Regions from separate parts of the Homo sapiens genome. Here region 1 is linked to region 2. The links are contacts of gene promoters, found by promoter capture Hi-C in human tissues and cell types (Jung and others, 2019). All regions are on one chromosome and are shown on one strand. The core of a region is centred on a gene start or on the middle of the fragment in contact, and the rest is flanking DNA. Distances in the headings are between cores, read along the strand shown. Region 1 holds the start of LOC124902930 (a long non-coding RNA gene). Region 2 holds the start of FAIM2 (Fas apoptotic inhibitory molecule 2).

The links. The method cuts DNA at HindIII sites, captures the fragments that hold promoters and counts their contacts. A contact is called where the count stands out against the background at its distance.
Region 1: a contact is called between a fragment that was not itself captured here and the fragment with the promoter of FAIM2 in region 2, in 7 of the 25 tissues and cell types used here (IMR-90 fibroblasts, bladder, heart left ventricle and 4 more).

What each region holds. Positions count from the first base shown.
Region 1 is chr12:49,944,484-49,948,616 of GRCh38, forward strand. It overlaps LOC124902930 (a long non-coding RNA gene), which reads right to left and starts at 1,224. Exons shown (of 2, transcript XR_007063302.1): 1 at 1,142-1,224. It overlaps LOC105369763 (a long non-coding RNA gene), which reads left to right. Exons shown (of 5, transcript XR_944948.3): 3 at 479-546; 4 at 905-1,832; 5 at 2,025-2,440. RefSeq lists enhancers at 516-1,392, 1,123-1,417, 1,393-2,268 and a silencer at 1,056-1,296. The HindIII fragment of the contact is 4,586 bases long and covers 1-3,921 here.
Region 2 is chr12:49,902,437-49,906,602 of GRCh38, forward strand. It overlaps FAIM2 (Fas apoptotic inhibitory molecule 2), which reads right to left and starts at 1,464. Exons shown (of 12, transcript NM_012306.4): 1 at 1,342-1,464. The coding sequence starts at 1,356. The HindIII fragment of the contact is 14,088 bases long and covers 1-4,166 here.

The DNA of each region.
Region 1 (4,133 bases), core at 379-2,878, 42 kb after region 2:
GTGGCAACCCATTTGTGGGTCATAAAATCAATTTAGTAGTTGTGACCTGAATTACTTGTTAGTGAAATAGAGAGGAATTTACAACATCACACTTAGGAAATACTGTTTTGTGAAATGTTAGTTTCAGTTATCTATCTATCTATCTGTCTGTCTGAGAGATCATGTTTATTAGTTAAGATATTAAATGTATTTCTTACTGCAGGTCTCAATCAAAAACCTCTGAAAGCCACTGGCCTAGAGTTAGAGGAAGAGTTAGCCATGAGAAATGGTGGTGACACAGGTTCCAAAAGAAGAAACAATAGGTATCAGGCTCAGAGATGAAAGGGCTAGAAGGAGGACACACCAAGTTCAAGGTCTGGCCTTTCTCGAGGGCAGTGGGGAGCCATGGGAGGTTAGCAAGATCCCATCTTCTTCATCCCTGGGCCTCACCCCATGGGCAGGAGGGAAATGGCAGGAAGTTGTCTTTGTGTCTCCCCAGGAGCCTGGACCTGTGGCCTTCCCTGCCTCCACCTGGGCCTCAACCGTCACGACCACCTGGCCTTTGAGGTAGGGTTTGGAGAAGGAAGTCAGCCTATTATCAGGAGAAGGCTTGAATTTCTATATTCATAGCTTGTTTCTGTCACTTACTAGCCTTGTGATCATGGGCAACTTGTCTAATCTCTGTCCCTCAGTTTCCTCCTTTGTAAAATAGGTCTCATAGAACTCATCCCCAAAAGTCCTTGTGAAGATTTAGTTTGTAAGCCAGATGTCTGCAGACCTCCAGTAAAAGAATATGTTTTTGGTATTAGTATGTATGTCCCAAATATTGCTTGGAATATGCTTATACAAACAAAAATCATTTGTTTTTTATCTGAAATTCAAATTTACCTGGATGTCCTGTATTTTATCTGGAAACCCTACACAGAAATCAAATGGCTCACGCTGTGTCTCAGAGCTGCAACGATCCAACGCCCTCCATCCTTCAGAGGCTGTCTGAGTCCGGGGACACAACTCCCACCCTCCTCTCCTGCCAGCCGCGGCCCGTGGCTGCTCTCTTCACTTCGTCCCGCTTCGCCCCGACTGTGGATCTACCCGCTCCCTTCTCCCTCAGTCCCCAAAGCACCAGACTCACAGGCCTGCTGTGTGACCCACTTTTACCGACCTTTCGGGGAGAGTAGAGGGCATTTGTGACTCAGCTCAGAGCAGGAAACACATCTCACGTCAACTGTCAGACAGCGCTGCTCCGAATCCCATCACAGTGCTCCAGCAGGGGGCGTCCTCACCGGCCGCGGCCACAGCCACGGCTCAACCCGGCCTAGCTCCCAGACACCCTCCTTCCACCGCCTGTTTTCCACCGTCCCCGCCTGCTCTTTCAAGCCAGCAGCAAACAACACCCTAATCCGTGTCTTTATTATTCAAAGACCTTAAGCACTCTTTCCCACCTCGTTCCCATCTTGATTATTTCAGGGAATGAATTAGGGATTCACCTTTACAATCAAAAAAGTTCTCTCAAAGCCAGGCTACTGGAGTTCTAATTCTGCCTTCCCACTTTTACTAGCTGTGAAATCTCAGGAAAGTTACTTAACCTCTCTCTGTCTCATTTTCCTCATCTTTAAAAAACAGGATGATAATATTTAGCTCCTAAGATGGTTGTGAGGATTTAAGTGAGCTGATATATCCAAGAATGTCTAGAACAGCGCGTGGCAGAATGGGCATTGCATATGGGTTTAATCTTGTAACTGCCATGTTTCACCAATTCTAAGGTGTATCTCGTTTCTCATCATAAGAGCTCTTCCGCTCGTGTGGCAGCTGGGAGTGGCCGTCATTGCCTGCGCATACCTAAACTTGGTCAGGTGAGTTCCGTGCCTTCAGCTTAATTGCTGTTTAAAATGTCTTCAAAAAGGTTACACTGTGGTTTAGCATTTAAACCCAGTTACTGTGTATGCAGAAAGGCGGGCAAACAGAAGAGTGTAGCAAGAATTTTATATTAGTGAAGCAGTTATCATTGAAGAATGACCACAGTTTCATATTTTCTTGCAAAACAGCAGCCAAGTGTTTTGTGAGACCTAAGAAAGGAAGAGCCCCATAAGTAAATGGAACTGTTGTGTTGTTTTATTACCGAGAAAAGGGCAGAATGATTGCTAGTCACACGTGAAGCAAGAAAACCCCGGCAATAAAGCTTGCAGAATGAGTGGCTGAGGCTTGAAAATAAATGGTGGAAACAATAGTGGACAATCTTTTAAAGAATGGCACATTGCCAATGCTCCTGATGGCACAGAAGGTGACACCATGCAGAAAATCAAGGCTCTGAGTCAAAGAGGGTTTCAGAAAAATTGGACTCTGAATGTGAAGAAATCTGGGGACTATTTTAGCCAATTTGTTTTGCCTATAATTTCCTTTTATGCATGCAAAAGAGCAATTCTGACTTTAAAGACTGATATCTAAATAAATCTAAAATATCTTTTTTGTGTGTGTGTCTGTGATACAGTGTCTCGCCCTTTCACCCAGGCTGGAGTGCAGTAGTGCAATCTCAGCTCACTGCAACTTCTGCCTCCCAGTCTCAAGCAATCCTCCCACATCAGCCGGACTACAGGTGCACACCACCATGCCTAGCTAATTTTTTGTGAGTATTTTTTGTAAAGATAGGGTTTCACCATGTTGCCAGACTGGTCTCAAACTCCTGGGCTCAAGTGATCCGCCCACCTTGGCCTCTCAAAGTGCTGGGATTACAGGCATGAGCCACCAAGCCCAGCCTATAAAATACGCATAACATAAAATTTACCATCTTAACTTTTTTTTTTTTTTTGAGACGGATTTTCGCTCTTGTTGCCCAGGCTGGAGTGCAGTGGCATGATCTCAGCTCACTGCAACCTCCACCTCCTGGGTTCAAGTGATTCTCCTGCCTCAGCCTCCGAGTAGCTGGGATTACAGGCATGTGCCACCACACCCAGCTAATTTTGTATTTTTAGTAGAGATGGTGTTTCTCCATGTTGGTCAGGCTGGTCTCAAACTTCCGACCTCAGGTGATCCACCCACCTCGGCCTCCCAAAGTGCTGGGATTACAGGCGTGAGCCACCACGCCTGGCCCTCATCTTAACCATTTTTAAGTGCACAGTTCAGTGGCATTAAGCACATTCACATTGCTGTGAATTCATCAGCAATTTTTGTCATGTTCTAATTAATAGTGCATGATAGATGCATAGACTTCCTAAGAAACAGTGTAGTGGCCATTGTAGAAAAAATGCAGCCATCCCTGCAGGTGAGCAGAGCTGCCAGCCAGAAGCACAGCCAAGCCCCGCCAGCTTTGATGAGAACACCTTCTTCCTCCCTGGCATGAAGGGAAAGTCAAATGCAAACACAGGCATGAGCCGTGTCATCGTTGGCCCCTTCCCCTCCTCCCAGACTAGGGGCCAGATCAGAATGTGAGTCCTGACTACTATTGTAAGCTGTGCGGCAGGTCATACTCTCTCTGGAATTCATGTTCTCATCATGGAAACTGAAATCCACAGGCAAGATGATCTCTAAGATCCCATTAGCTTCTAAATGTATGATTGTGTAACTGAACAACCACACAAGACACACACCACAAACATATGCAAATTCGGGTTGGGTCTTTGTGGGCTCCAAGGAGAAGCTGTCACACCTATCCTGGTGTATTGGGAAGCAAGAGATTTTTACCCGACTGGGTTAGGAGTGGTTCTTCCCAGAATCAAGGGTCAGTAGGCCACTCTGTCAAGATCGTGAATACCTTGACCAAAGGAGAGACCAGAAAGGGTGTGTGGCCCATCCGAGAGCACACAGCAACTAAATGGTTGGGTGTGGATTTAGAAGCCACTGTCACAGCTTCAGTTCACATGAGGCCCAAGGAGAAGGTTTTCCAGGAACCCCTGAGACTCAGTCCTGAACTTGGCCAGTTGGGGTGGACAGTATATCCGAAGGTCAGGAGAAGTGATACATGAAACCACAAAAGAAAGGAGTAGGCCAGGCACGGTGGCTCACGCCTGTAATCCCAGCACTTTGGGAGGTCGAGGCAGGTGGATCACAAGGTCAGGAGTTTGAGACCAGCCTGGCCAATATGGTGAAATCCCATGTCTACTAAAAAAAAATACAAAAAGTAGTCGGGCATGGTGGCATGTGCCTGTAATCCCAGCTAC
Region 2 (4,166 bases), core at 214-2,713:
GGCACGCACCAGAAGACTTCTGGTTCCATCCAGGCCCAAGGACCACTGAACTGGAGCGGTCTTCTCCATCCCCCAGCAAGCCTGTGCGTGAGCTGGGGACAAGGGGCAGAGGAGGCAGAGGTCCCCCTCACACCAGGAAGGGAACAGCGCCACTAAAGGGCCTGGTGGAGGCAGGGTGGAGGTGGAAGGAGACTCAGCAGAAGGGGTGAGTTCTCCATGTTTACGGAACTGAACACTCCCCAGGCCTCCCACTGCCTCCCACTCCCCAGCCCCCCTCATCACCCGGATCTGAAGGATCATGTCCACCTAAATCGAGTTCAGCCTCCACCCTGCCACTCCGCCCCCCAGAGCCTCCTGGACCCTAATGCCCAGGCCCCCGACACACATACGGCACTCCCAAGTGAGGTGTGACCAATGGCGGGAGGTGGTATCACCCAGTGACATCATTTGAGGCCCAAAGAGCTTGCATACAGGGAGAGGAGGGTCTGAGGGTCCAGGGAAGGATGTCATTGGCTCTGAAGCTCCTCTCAAAGAGAAGAAGGGGGAGTGTAGGGGAGGTCCTTCCCCTGTTTTCTCTGCCCAATCCTTAGCAACCCAAACAGAGGGCCCGAGTACCCTCCCCCTTAGCCCCAGGCCCTAGTGGTTGTATAATTCCACAGGCTATTGATGTTACATAAGCCTACTAGGCCAGCCGAGTCTCTGCCCCAGCCCCTCCCCTACAATTCAGGCCTAAAACTGGAGAAGAGATGCTTCATCCGGACCCATCCATGCCTGGCCAAAACCAAAACAACAATTAGAGCATCTTGATGCAGAGTTGTCATAGCAAGCCCCAAGCACAGGGATGGAGCCAAGACGCCCAGATGTGGAACAATGGCAGGGAGTAGGGTGGGGGTTGTTTCCGTGGAGGGTGGGAAAGATGAGCATAAAGTGGTTGGGTTTGGGACTGGAGGGTTGGGCCAGAGGGGGTTGCCCGATAGGCACTGCCCCTCAGGGCTCACCCTGGCACACACATACCCATGCACACACATACAGTCACACCAGACGCCCGGGCTGACTCCTCACGGGGGGCCTGGGTATCTGTGAGGAGCCTTGTAATGCTGTAATGCCAAAGCAGGGGTGGCAGGGTGACAGGGGAGGAGAGGCGCGCCTGCGGGCAGGAAGAGGCCTCGGTCCATTCCTTGACACCGGCCTTTCGGTCCTCTGACTTCAGCAAGGACCACGGAGGACCTTCAAACTAGGGCCAGGGGAGGATGCTTTCGTGGTCCAGAGGGCTTGCTGAGGATGACAGGGAGCCGGGAGCCGGAGGATGGAGGATGGTGCAGGCTGGGGAGATGCCGGTACCTTTCCCTGGGTCATGGTGCCGTCTCTCGGGGAAGGGGTCCCTGAGGCCCGGGTGGCCGCTTGGGTAACCGCAGCCTGCCTGCGTCTCTTCCTTCCTCCGCGTGGGTTCTAGCAACATCCACTGCAGCCGGGCCAGGCGAGCCGGCGCGTACCATCGGCGCGGGGGGAGGAGAGGGCCGGGCCTGGGAAGATGCTGCGGAGGACGCTGCGGATTCGCGAGCCCGGGGTAAGGCGGCGGCGCACCGCCCCCTCCCGCCGCTTCCCCCCCACCCCGCCCCCCACCGCCGCCCTTAGCCCTCCCCCGGGATGAGAGAGAGTCGCGCTGCGGAGCAACCCCAGTGGATGGGTCCGCGGGGGCTGAGCGGGCGGAGGACGCGGGAACTCCGTGACACCGACCAGCTGACGCTGCCCGCGTGAAACCAGAGCCGGGCATCAGGGCCTCATCTCCACTGTCTCTGCACCTCTCTGCAGCTCCAGCTGCGCCTCTGCCTTTTCCTCCTCCCTCTTTGGATGCGGCCCTGATTTCTGTCTCCATCTCCACCTCCCCTCTCATCATCTATTTCATCATCCCTGGTAGAGGGGAAGGTCTGGAAGTCTCGCCTGTGCTGCCCGCTTCTAACAGGGCCCCTGGGCCCTGCGCTCCTGTGGGCCTGGGGCAAGCCAATAGCCACCTATCCTTGCTCCTTTTTCTCGCCTGTGAAATGCACACAGTAGGTCCCTCCCTGCCTTGGTTCACAGAGACATGGGGTGGGAGGACACCTCTTCTGTTTCTTTCAGCCCTGCTGGGACATTTCACGGGGTCTTTCTGGAGACACCGCTAGTTCTGTCTCAAAGCCTCTACAACCCCTGCCAGAGCTCTCTTCCTGCCTCCACGCTTAGCTTCCATCACCCCGTCTCCATCTTCCCCCCTTTTCCATTCCTCCCATGCCAGAGCTCGTTCTCCCCGCTTCCCCAGACGTGTCACTGGGACCCAGCCATCATCAGGCCCCGTTTTCTGTAGCTGCTGCAGTGTCACTATGGGGTTTGCAATCTCAAGAGCTGGGATCAAGTCCCAATTTAGTCACCCACTGGCCGCGTGGCCTTGGCAAGGCCCTTAACCTCTCTGAGCTGCAGCTCCTACGAAAAAGAGGCTTAGAACAGAGCTCTGTCCATCCTAGATTGACTGTCAGACGCACAGGTTATGGCCGTAAAAGCACATAAAAGACCAAGAAGTGCTGGAAGTATGTGAGGTATTATTAACTGAGGAGTCTCCTACCAGAATGTCCTGGGCTGCCCCAGAGCGAGCACCCACAAATCTGCCTAAAAGAAGTATCTGAACCTGCTAGGATGGGACGAGAAACTAAGACCTGGGACAGGTGGGGGTGGCCACTTACCTTCTGCTTCCCTCTCACTGCCCAGGGACCCACCTAAAGTCCCTGAGAAAGCAGGGCCCAGGTAGGCAGACAAATTATCAAAGTCTTTTTTTTTTTTTTTTTTTTTTTTTTTACAGAGAAAATCTTGTTCTGTTGCTCAGGCTGGAGTGCAGTGGCACAATCTTGGCTCACTGCAACCTCTGTCTTCCGGGTTCAAGTGATTCTCCTGCCTCAGCCTCCTGAGTAGCTGGGATTACAGGCGCGCACCACCACGCCCGGCTAATTTTGTATTTTTAGTAGAGACAGGGTTTCACCATGTTGGCCAGGCTGGTCTCCAACTCCTGACCTCAAGTGATCCACCCTCCTCAGCCTCCCAAAGTGCTGGGATTACAGGTGTGAGCCACCGTGCCTGGCCTAATTATCAAAGTCTTTATCCCACCCCTTTTTGCCCTTTGTCCCCCACTCCATAACCACCAATTTTGCACAAACACACTTAAGCCTGGGCCTCCGTGTCCAGAGGCTCTCTCAACCCTACAAACCCGAGCTCTTCTTCCAGCAAGCTGTGCCCTGGTCCCCAGCACTGCACCTGGAGCTCTGACCAGCTGGTCCAGGTTCTGGCCTTCCCTCCTTCTCTGCATCTGCATCCTGGAAGTGTTTTCCTTCTCCTGCTTGACAGCTTGAATGCCACCTCCTCCAGGAAGCCTCCTTCCCCCCCTAGTTGGGGTTAGATGCTCCTCTTCTGTAGTTCCCTAGCACCCTGATGTAACGCCTGTCACGTGGCGCTGTGAAGTTTCTTTGACTGACTCCCTGTTACACTCTAAGCTCCTGTAGCAGTTTTGGTGTGAGCTGGACTGAATGCAGTGCCAGGTGTGTGGAATGCACTCCATCAATTGTAGCTAGTAATATTTCCCAGACATGGCACTACGCAGAGCCTGACTTTCATCAGCCTTAGCACTTTCATGTTTGTGAATCACTCCTGTTCCTTCTCTCGCATTCACTCTGCTCCAGCCACACAGGCCTCTTGGCCATTCCTTAGACTGGGCTGAGCATGCGCTTAGCTGAGGCCCTTTGCACTGGCTGTGTCTTGTTTGGAAATTCTACAGATCATTGCGTGGCTCCCTCCCTCACTAACTTCACTACTCTGCTCAGACATTATCTCAGGGGTGGTCTTCCTGATCTTATACAAAGTAGCAGTGCCACCCGCATACCCCCACCCAGCAAATTGGACAGTCCCTTTTTTCTGATTAAGCTTTATGTTTTCTATGTCAATTGTCACCTCTGACATGTTTTGTTTTGTTTTGTTTTGTTCTCTCTCTCTCTCCCATTAGAACGTCAGCTACAGAAGAGGAGGAGTTTGGGGGTGTTGTGTCATTGCTTTACACCTGTGGGTTAAAATAGTGACTGACATGGATGTGGTGGGTTGATAAGTATTTGGTTGAGTAAAGTACAGCATTATACAAAATCCTTATATTC